2 separate regions of the Homo sapiens genome follow, and region 2 is linked to region 1. The links are contacts of gene promoters, found by promoter capture Hi-C in blood cells and fetal thymus (Javierre and others, 2016). All regions are on one chromosome and are shown on one strand. The core of a region is centred on a gene start or on the middle of the fragment in contact, and the rest is flanking DNA. Distances in the headings are between cores, read along the strand shown. Region 1 holds the start of EDEM3 (ER degradation enhancing alpha-mannosidase like protein 3). Region 2 holds the start of ARPC5 (actin related protein 2/3 complex subunit 5).

Evidence for each region. The method cuts DNA at HindIII sites, captures the fragments that hold promoters and counts their contacts. A CHiCAGO score of 5 or more calls a contact.
Region 2: the fragment with the promoter of ARPC5 here is called in contact with the fragment with the promoter of EDEM3 in region 1 in 4 of 17 cell types (naive CD8 T cells, fetal thymus, activated CD4 T cells and 1 more); the score reaches 6.8 in naive CD8 T cells.

Annotation. Positions count from the first base shown.
Region 1 is chr1:184,753,075-184,756,842 of GRCh38, forward strand. It overlaps EDEM3 (ER degradation enhancing alpha-mannosidase like protein 3), which reads right to left and starts at 1,784. Exons shown (of 20, transcript NM_025191.4): 1 at 1,415-1,784. The coding sequence starts at 1,572. LOC105371649 (a long non-coding RNA gene) reads left to right here and starts at 2,100. Exons shown (of 3, transcript XR_922357.4): 1 at 2,100-2,459. RefSeq lists enhancers at 1,368-1,467, 1,938-2,037. The HindIII fragment of the contact is 1,960 bases long and covers 1,418-3,377 here.
Region 2 is chr1:183,633,329-183,637,479 of GRCh38, forward strand. It overlaps ARPC5 (actin related protein 2/3 complex subunit 5), which reads right to left and starts at 2,455. Exons shown (of 4, transcript NM_005717.4): 1 at 2,189-2,455. The coding sequence starts at 2,331. It also overlaps a transcript of RGL1 not described here. RefSeq lists enhancers at 1,651-2,151, 2,149-2,428 and silencers at 1,739-1,957, 1,909-1,968, 2,049-2,098, 2,579-2,738. The HindIII fragment of the contact is 3,712 bases long and covers 1,486-4,151 here.

The DNA of each region.
Region 1 (3,768 bases), core at 534-3,033:
ATTTAGAAACGAATACAAGACTCTTTGCAATGATTTAAAGTACATAAAGTAAGACCTGATGGTTCCACCACCCCTCCAGCCTAACCCCATGAGATAATCTTCGTTCCACTTTTTTTCTGAGCTCAGATTTTTTTTTTCTTTTTTAAAAAAAACATGGGATGATACTATACATATTATTCTACAACTTGCATTTTTTTTTGTTTTGGAAATATATTCTGGATAGGCTTCCAGTGACGTACTTCCTTCTTCTTAATGTCTCAATATTATTCCATAATATGAACGTACCCTATTGAACCATTTCCTCCAAGGAAGAGCTGTTCTTTCAAAATGCACTTTTTTTTTTTTTTTTCGAGACAGAGTTTCGCTCTTGTTGCCCAGGCTGGATCTATCTCTGCATTAAGAGTGCTTTTATTTTCTTAGGGTAGATTCTCAGAAATAGAACTGATGAATCAAAGTGTGCACAATTTAAATTTTAGTAGATACTACCAATAAGTTACAGCAATTTACACTCTCACTAAGCCTTTTTTTTCTATTCCTTAACTAACCAGAACCGTATCCTTGTGTTTTGTATTATATTTACTAATCTGATGGGCAAAAACCAGCTAGCTCCTCGTTTTAATCTGCATCTCCTACGTTTATGGAGGTTGAGTAACTTTTCATGTTTATTTACCACTTCCATTTCCTCTTCTGGCTTAACCGTTCATGCCTTTCTCCCATTTCCTACTGGTTCTTCGCTTTTTTCTTATTCATGTGTAGGACCTCGTGTATGTATTACTCTGAATTAAATGGTGTAAATAGAATTGATAATTTTAACACACTTCCAAGACGGATAAAAACTACTGAATAGGTATACTTGAGACTTTTGAATAATTTCCCCCCAAACATTCTATTATGAAAATACAGTGCAAGAAAACACTGCAAGGAAATAGTAAAATGTGTAAAGTTCAAGTTCCAATGAACGCCCCCTTTTCCGTAACAGGTGTAAACATCATTTCCTTAACTACTGTGAGATCAGCAACATTTTCCCAGTTGGAAGCTCACTTGCGCGAGAAAGCTAACCATGCTTCGGTCGACAGGCAGCCAACCGCAGAACTCCAGCGCGCAGCGATGCGGGCTGTAGCCCCCTTCTTGGGCCACTGACATGGCAGCCGCGTTGACACACCGCGCCTGGCTTCAAGGAGCCTGCACATGTCACCGGCGGCCAGGGCGACACCCCGTCAGCTCCCCCGAGGTCAGGTCGCGGGCGGCGGTTCCCACCTCCCCGGACCCTGTCCACCCCTCTAGGGTTCTCGCGCGGGAAGAGCCGTTCCAATCGCGACAGGAGAGGCCACTACGCGACCGGGTCGCAATGACAGGCACCCCTCCTGTTGTCAGCCTCACCGAGAAACCCACCCCAGGCTGCCAGCACCCTTACCCAAGCTTCTGTTTCTCCTCCCTACTCATGGGCTCGGCCCCCGCCGTCCACACGGAGGTGGCCGACACCAGGCAGAACGCGGCCGTCGCCGCCACTAGTCTCCATCGCGCTCGCTGGGGAACCGGGGACCCACAGCCCCGGCCGCCGGCTTCGCTCATGGCCCCGCGGTTCCGCGCACGCGCAGCTGCTACGCCCGGCCGGTGAGACACATTGCTGGACGCTGGTGGCCAGGGGGCTGCTAGCCGTGCCGAGACGGGGCGGGATGCGGAGTAACACGGACGGCCGCCGGCGCCAAACTGTTTCCCGAAGCCACCAAGCCGGTCCCCAGCGCCAGCGCTGCCACCGCCCTCCGCCCTCAGTATCCCGGAGCGCCTCCCCCAGCTTTCCGGTGTCGTAGTCTAGGAAACCGCCTCCCCAACGTTACTTCCGGGTAGGGCCGAAGCCGTAGAGCCTCAGGACCAATGGAGACCTCATGGGAGAGGGGCTGTCTCCGGCGACTGGAGAGGGCATTGGCCAGGAGAAGTGAGACGTGGACAAAAGGCGGGACTGGGAAGGGATCTCTCGCTTCGACCCGCCTCCGACCCGCGGAGTTGCCCCCTGAGGACTACCAGTCCCAGTGTGCACTGCTTCTTCCCCGGCTCTCCCGCGAGCCGACTCGGAGCCGTGTCTCTCGCTTCTACCCGGGGTAGGCGCGCTGCACCCTGGGACTTGCGGTCCTCCGAGGTCGCCAGTGGTTGCTGGGATCCCACCTCCCCCTTTCCTCGGCGCCCTACAGTCAACCCTGTCTCGGTGGGCTGCGGAGTCCCGGGAAACCCGTCAGCTGTTTATCTCTCTTCCTCAGAAAGTTGTTTCCCAGAGAGCTGGCTGAATGAGGCGCACTGTCCCCATGTCAGTGCTGCTGCGTTAGGGAATAGTGTTGGAGTAGTCGTCTACCCTCAGGGAAATTCCAAAACACAGTAACAGCAAAATGAATTGAGCCTTTGAAGGCATTGCGCTAAGGTTTTTACTCGCAATCATCTCATGCACTCTTCTCAACTCTGATAGAGTAAGTACCACCATCCCCCTTTTGCAGACGAGAAAACAGAGGCTTAGAAAAGTTGGTTAACAAGAGCTCGTCACACTGCTGTATTAGAATCCATCCAGCCTCTGATTCGGAAGCCCTTGCATTTAACCACCGCGCAGTACTACAAGGATGAAGGAGCACGTGGGTCCTCGTACATGATTAATAATAGTTACCTCAAAAGCTCAATGTAAGGAGAGCTGTGTGGGCTGCAAAGAAGGTTTAATGAAGGAGATTGGAACTTGCAATGAATTTTGATGACCGAGTCCCAGGTTAACTATTGGTAAAATGACACATCGGTTCCTCTTGAAAAACCACATTGTTTTTCTAGTGTGGTCATTCAATAGGTGCGGAGTTTAGGAGCTTCGATGTGATCTCTGTGACCACAGTAAATTACTTACGTGTCCTTTAAGCAGTATTCGGCGGTCTTTCTGGAAACGTTTCTTCCTTGACTTTTATCACCTTACCTCTTACCTCTTAACCTCTTACCTCTTCTCTGGCTGACCCGTTTTCCTTCATTCTCTCGCTACTTTATATTAAAATACAGGTGTTCCCTTAAGGTTTTCTTTTTGTCCTTTTTCTCTCTGTACTCTAATTATTCCTTGGTGATTTCTTCTCATAAGGATTCAGCCAACATATCTCTGTGGTTGATTTCTAAATCAATATCTGTCCTGATCATTAGACCCACATTTCCACCTCCCTAATAGAAATGTCCTAATGTCTAGCCCAAGGGTAGCTCAAACGTAAGATGTTTTCTGATTCAAATTAATGCATCGGAATCATTGTCAACTCATCTTTAGCCTTCGGGGTCCACGTGCAATTAATTACCAAATTATATAGATTTTACCTCTTCTATCTTTCAGATTATTACCTTTCTTTCTATTCCCACTTTTGCTCCATTCAAGCTTCCATTACCTCTCTCCTAAACTATTGCAGTGTCTCAATAAATGTTAAATATACTTGCTTCCTTATTCCTGCAGTTTTCTTATCTATAAAGTGGGAATAATATGGTCCTTTTATCCAGTAGTCCCCAACTTTTTTGGCACCAGGGACCACTTTTGTGGAAGGCAATTTTTCCACAGGGTGGGGGAGACACCGTTCCATCTCAGATCTTCAGGTATTAGATTCTCATAAGGAGCGTGCAACCTAGATCCCTCGCATGTGCAGTGCACAATAGGGTTCATGCTCCTATGAGACTCTGACGCAGTTGATCTGACAGGAGGTGGAGCTCAGGTGGTAATGCTTGCTCGCCTGCTGCTCCTGAGAGGCAACTGACTGGTACCAGTCCACTGCC
Region 2 (4,151 bases), core at 1,205-3,704, 1.1 Mb before region 1:
GCAAAATAGAACATTAGACTTTTTTTTAATAAAGCAAAGACTGTTTCACCCTTGGTTCTAACTATCAAGTGAACACCTTGATAGTCTTTCATTTCCCAGTGAGATACATATGCAAACATTACCTAGAGTGGTGTTAAAGAAATCCTAAAATATATATCAGAATTATTAGTCCCCCAAATGAAATAACCTATTATCAACCAAAATATGTCTTTTCCTGTGATTCTAATTGAAAAAATAAAGACCAAACTTTTGCTAGAACCATATTCTGTATTATCTGAAATGCTGGTAGAACATGCTGGCAGATTAGCAATCTGAATGATACACATTAGCAATCTCTCAATATTGATGAAAAGAGGCATCACAGAAGATGTAATAATTCATATGTCCCTTAGGTGGCAGCTTAATTTTTTGCTTTAGATATTTTCTCTCATATTTCACAAAGGTTATTCAAACTGTGTTAGACCATACCTATTAAATTCAGGCTCTCTTTGAAAGCACTAGTGAGTTAGCAAGCATGAGAAACAGAAGGCCAATCAGACTGTCAGAATGTACAAACATTCCCCTAAAAGGAAAACCACAGAGTTCACTTGTTCCTCCAACTCTAGTACCCCACCACTAGGGCTGTCTTTCCTGGCTGTATGTAACGGTAAGAAGAGACAGTATCTTTATATTTTAAGATGAACTGATCAAAAAGCAGATCCACTGATATGGATACAGCAGTACCATTTAAAAGTCACCACAAATTACCTAAAATACACTGGGGTTTCATAAAACACCATCTATCCATCACAAATAATGTTTTTAGGAAGCATGTTCACCATTTATTTTCTAAAGAAAAAGTTCTTACACAAAATCTCTGGTTGACAAGCTGTTATTTTCAAGGCTGCAGGGATTTCTAGAGAAGCATGCCTGATGTAGATTAGCTCATTTTTTATAACTCCAAGCACTTAAGTATTTAAATAATGCAAAAGAGCAACAGCTAATTAATTGTGAAAGTTGTGGCAAAGCACTATCTATATATTGATAAATGTCTAATGCTCTATTTAGGTGCCTTTAAAAAAGGATATTGTTGCCATTAAATATTTTCACTCTCATATTTCCCCACTATAACAGGACATTGTTGAGAGTCTTCCTTATGAATACACCCAAGAATTAGAAATGCATACAAATTCAGTGTCTGAGATTTTCTAAAACTACAGCTTCGGTTTTTTTGCAACATTTACATTTTTCTAAAAAAGATGTAATGCAAATGCGAAGCCAAAGTTATGAATATTCAAATATGCAAAAACAGAAACCGGGAACTGACTGCCATATTTTAACTAAAATGGAAACAATTTTAGGATTACAAAAATGATTCTGCTTTATACGAATGACTCATCTTCTATCTTATTCATTGGGGTTTATTTTAAATATTTCCAAGGATTCTCCACACGCATTCCCCGTTGTTTTTTCTATTGTCCTTTTCTTAGCAGGTAAAAGGCTCCAAGCTTCCTTCTAGGAGTTTTGTATTTTTTGTATTCATTCCCCTCCCCCAGTTAACAAATTCTGTACAATGTATATTTTGCCAAATCCCCTTCTTCTTCTTCTTTTTTTTTTTTTTTTAAAAAGGCCAATGGGCTGAAAGCACAGGGACCCTCAATTTTCGAACAGTCCCATCTCCCCCCGCCCCCCGGTAAGGAATAAACTACCTTAACGCTACCAATAACAAAAACACAACAAAAAACAAAACCACTAAGGAAAGATGCAGGTTCCCCACAATCAGAAATTTCTGGAGCTAATGTGACCCCAGGAAATCAGAGTTCTAGGAAGAAAAACTAAGGCGCTCGGCACCAGCCTTCCCCACCAGCCGGGGCCGCCTTCCCCAGCGCCGCGAGGGCGCGGCCGGCGGGACCAGTTCCCGAGGCAGGCAGGCACTCGGGTGCAACCTGAGGAATCTGGGGGCGTGGAAGGCGCGCGGGGGAGGGCAGGCTTCCAAGAGTGGGACCCTCGCGTCTCCTGCCGACTGGGTAGGAAACGGGGGCTTCCCCCTTGCCCTCTCAGAGCGGGCGATCCCAAAGAGACAGGTTAAGCCGCAGGTTGAGAGGGCAGCTCCGCGCCGGTGCCCCGCGGATCCTGCAGGCTCCCGGGTCCCAGGAGAAGGGCGGGCTGGGCTGGGCTGGGGTGGGGAGGGCGGTGAATGCAAGGATATTGCCGCAGGCAGGAGTCCACCTCGCCCTCGTCGGGCCCGGCCTGGCCGTCGCCCCCATCTTCTTCGTCCACGAACTTGTTCTCGTCATATTCATCCACGTCCACCTTCCGGAAGCGGGCCGACGACACTGTGTTCTTCGACATCCCAATCCCGACCAGCGGCAAAGGCCTCTTCTTGGCGCTGCCTCTACCTCAGCAAGCCCAGCCCAGCAACCCACTACCCGGCGCCTGATTCACTTCCCTCTTCCGCTCTGAGGCGTCGCCGACTGCCGCGGCTCGGACCGTTCTGGGCCTGCGCGCTAGCCCCGTTTCTTCCTCCTCAGGTTCGCGCTCCCTTGGCGCCTCCCACGCTGCCCCTGCTCTTCCACGGAGAGCGCGCGCGAGGGAAGGAGCGCGCAGGACACAGCGCGCAGGCGCGGGCTCTCCGCAGGCAAGGGGCGGGGCTGGGCGAAGGAGGCGGGGGCGAGAGGGAGGGCCAAAAGCTGGACCGCGGGCAGAGGTAAGAAGCGATTGGTCGTCCGATTGCGTCACGTGATTCTCGGTGGGGGGGTTCCCATAGAAACGCTTTTCTGCGGTCCAGTCTAGGGGGTCTCAGATTGGCGGGGATGGGCAGCAGCGGCAGGTGGCCTTGGCTTTTGCTGCAGCCGTCAACGACCTATCATCGGGGTCCTGCGTAAGGTCCGGCTGGCTGGGACTTGGCTGTGGGTGGGATGGACTGGCTGCCGGACCGAGTGCCCTGCAGTTGGTAGGAGTATGAGGCAGAGTGATGCACACCCGGGCGCCCAGCATCGTTCTAATTGCCGGAGACATTGCCTCAGACTGTGCGCTGCTAGAGGCTGCGTTCCTGAGCAGGAAGCCCGTTTCCTGGGATTGGAACTACCCTTCTTGGCCAGCGGGAAGTCCCCAAGGACGGAGTCGAAAGGTCAAATCTTATCTGTCAGTGCTGTGTGACAGCATCGCAACGGGATCTGCAGAACCTGAACTCGGTATCAAATCTATTGGGAGGGAGGGGAACGTGTCCGGGCAGGCGCTGGGGTCGGGTGGCAAAACTGGGGTGAATTTGTAGAATTTGGGAAAGGGTCATTGACATCTTAAAATAGGTGGTCGTTTGGAGCAAGAATGCTCGAAAGGGGTGAGGGTAGGTTAGGCTCTCTAGTGCTGGGGGAAAACAAAATGTGGAAGGATTGGTGGAAACCAGACCTTTAAGATTTATATTATGATTTGAGATTTATATGATTCCATCTAGGCCAGATTTAAAAAAATATTTGACATCCCCATTTCTGGAATGTAGGAGATAAAGGCACTAAGACGAAGGAAATGGTAGTTGTGCTGTGTGTATTACACTGAAGAACAAATATTTGCAGGATAAAATTAATTTGGACATTTGGCTGGACACTGCTCGGTATGGGTCCAGTTTAGTTGGACCTCGAGCAGAAGACTGGCTGTTGCCCTGTTGTGTACCACAATCTTTGGTTTCCAGTGCTGTGTTGAAAAGAGCACTAGGCTTAGAATCAGAAAACTCAGGCTTAAGTGTTGACTCTTCCACTCATAATGTTTGAACGAGACATGTCACTTAAAATTCTGTCTCAGATTCCTCATCACTGAAATGGAGCTAATAATGTGCACTTTACAAGATTGTTCTTAGGATTATATATCACGAAAGTGTTTCCAAGCTCTAAAATTCTACATAAATGTAAAATGCATGTTGCTTGTACCATTGGTTTTGGGACTAGTCTTATAAATTTCTTAATGATATATGGTGTTTTATCTCCTTCCTAGAAGAGATGGAAAGATTCTGAAGGGCAGAAACAGTTTTTCTTTTGTATCTTCCTTCCATATGACAAAAAGCTAAGCATGCAGAAGGGACTCGATACATGCTTGATGAATGAATGAAATGTGAAAGACCGTACAGTTTGAGAATCATACTGAGAATAATAAATCAGAAGAGGGAGAGAGATCTCAAA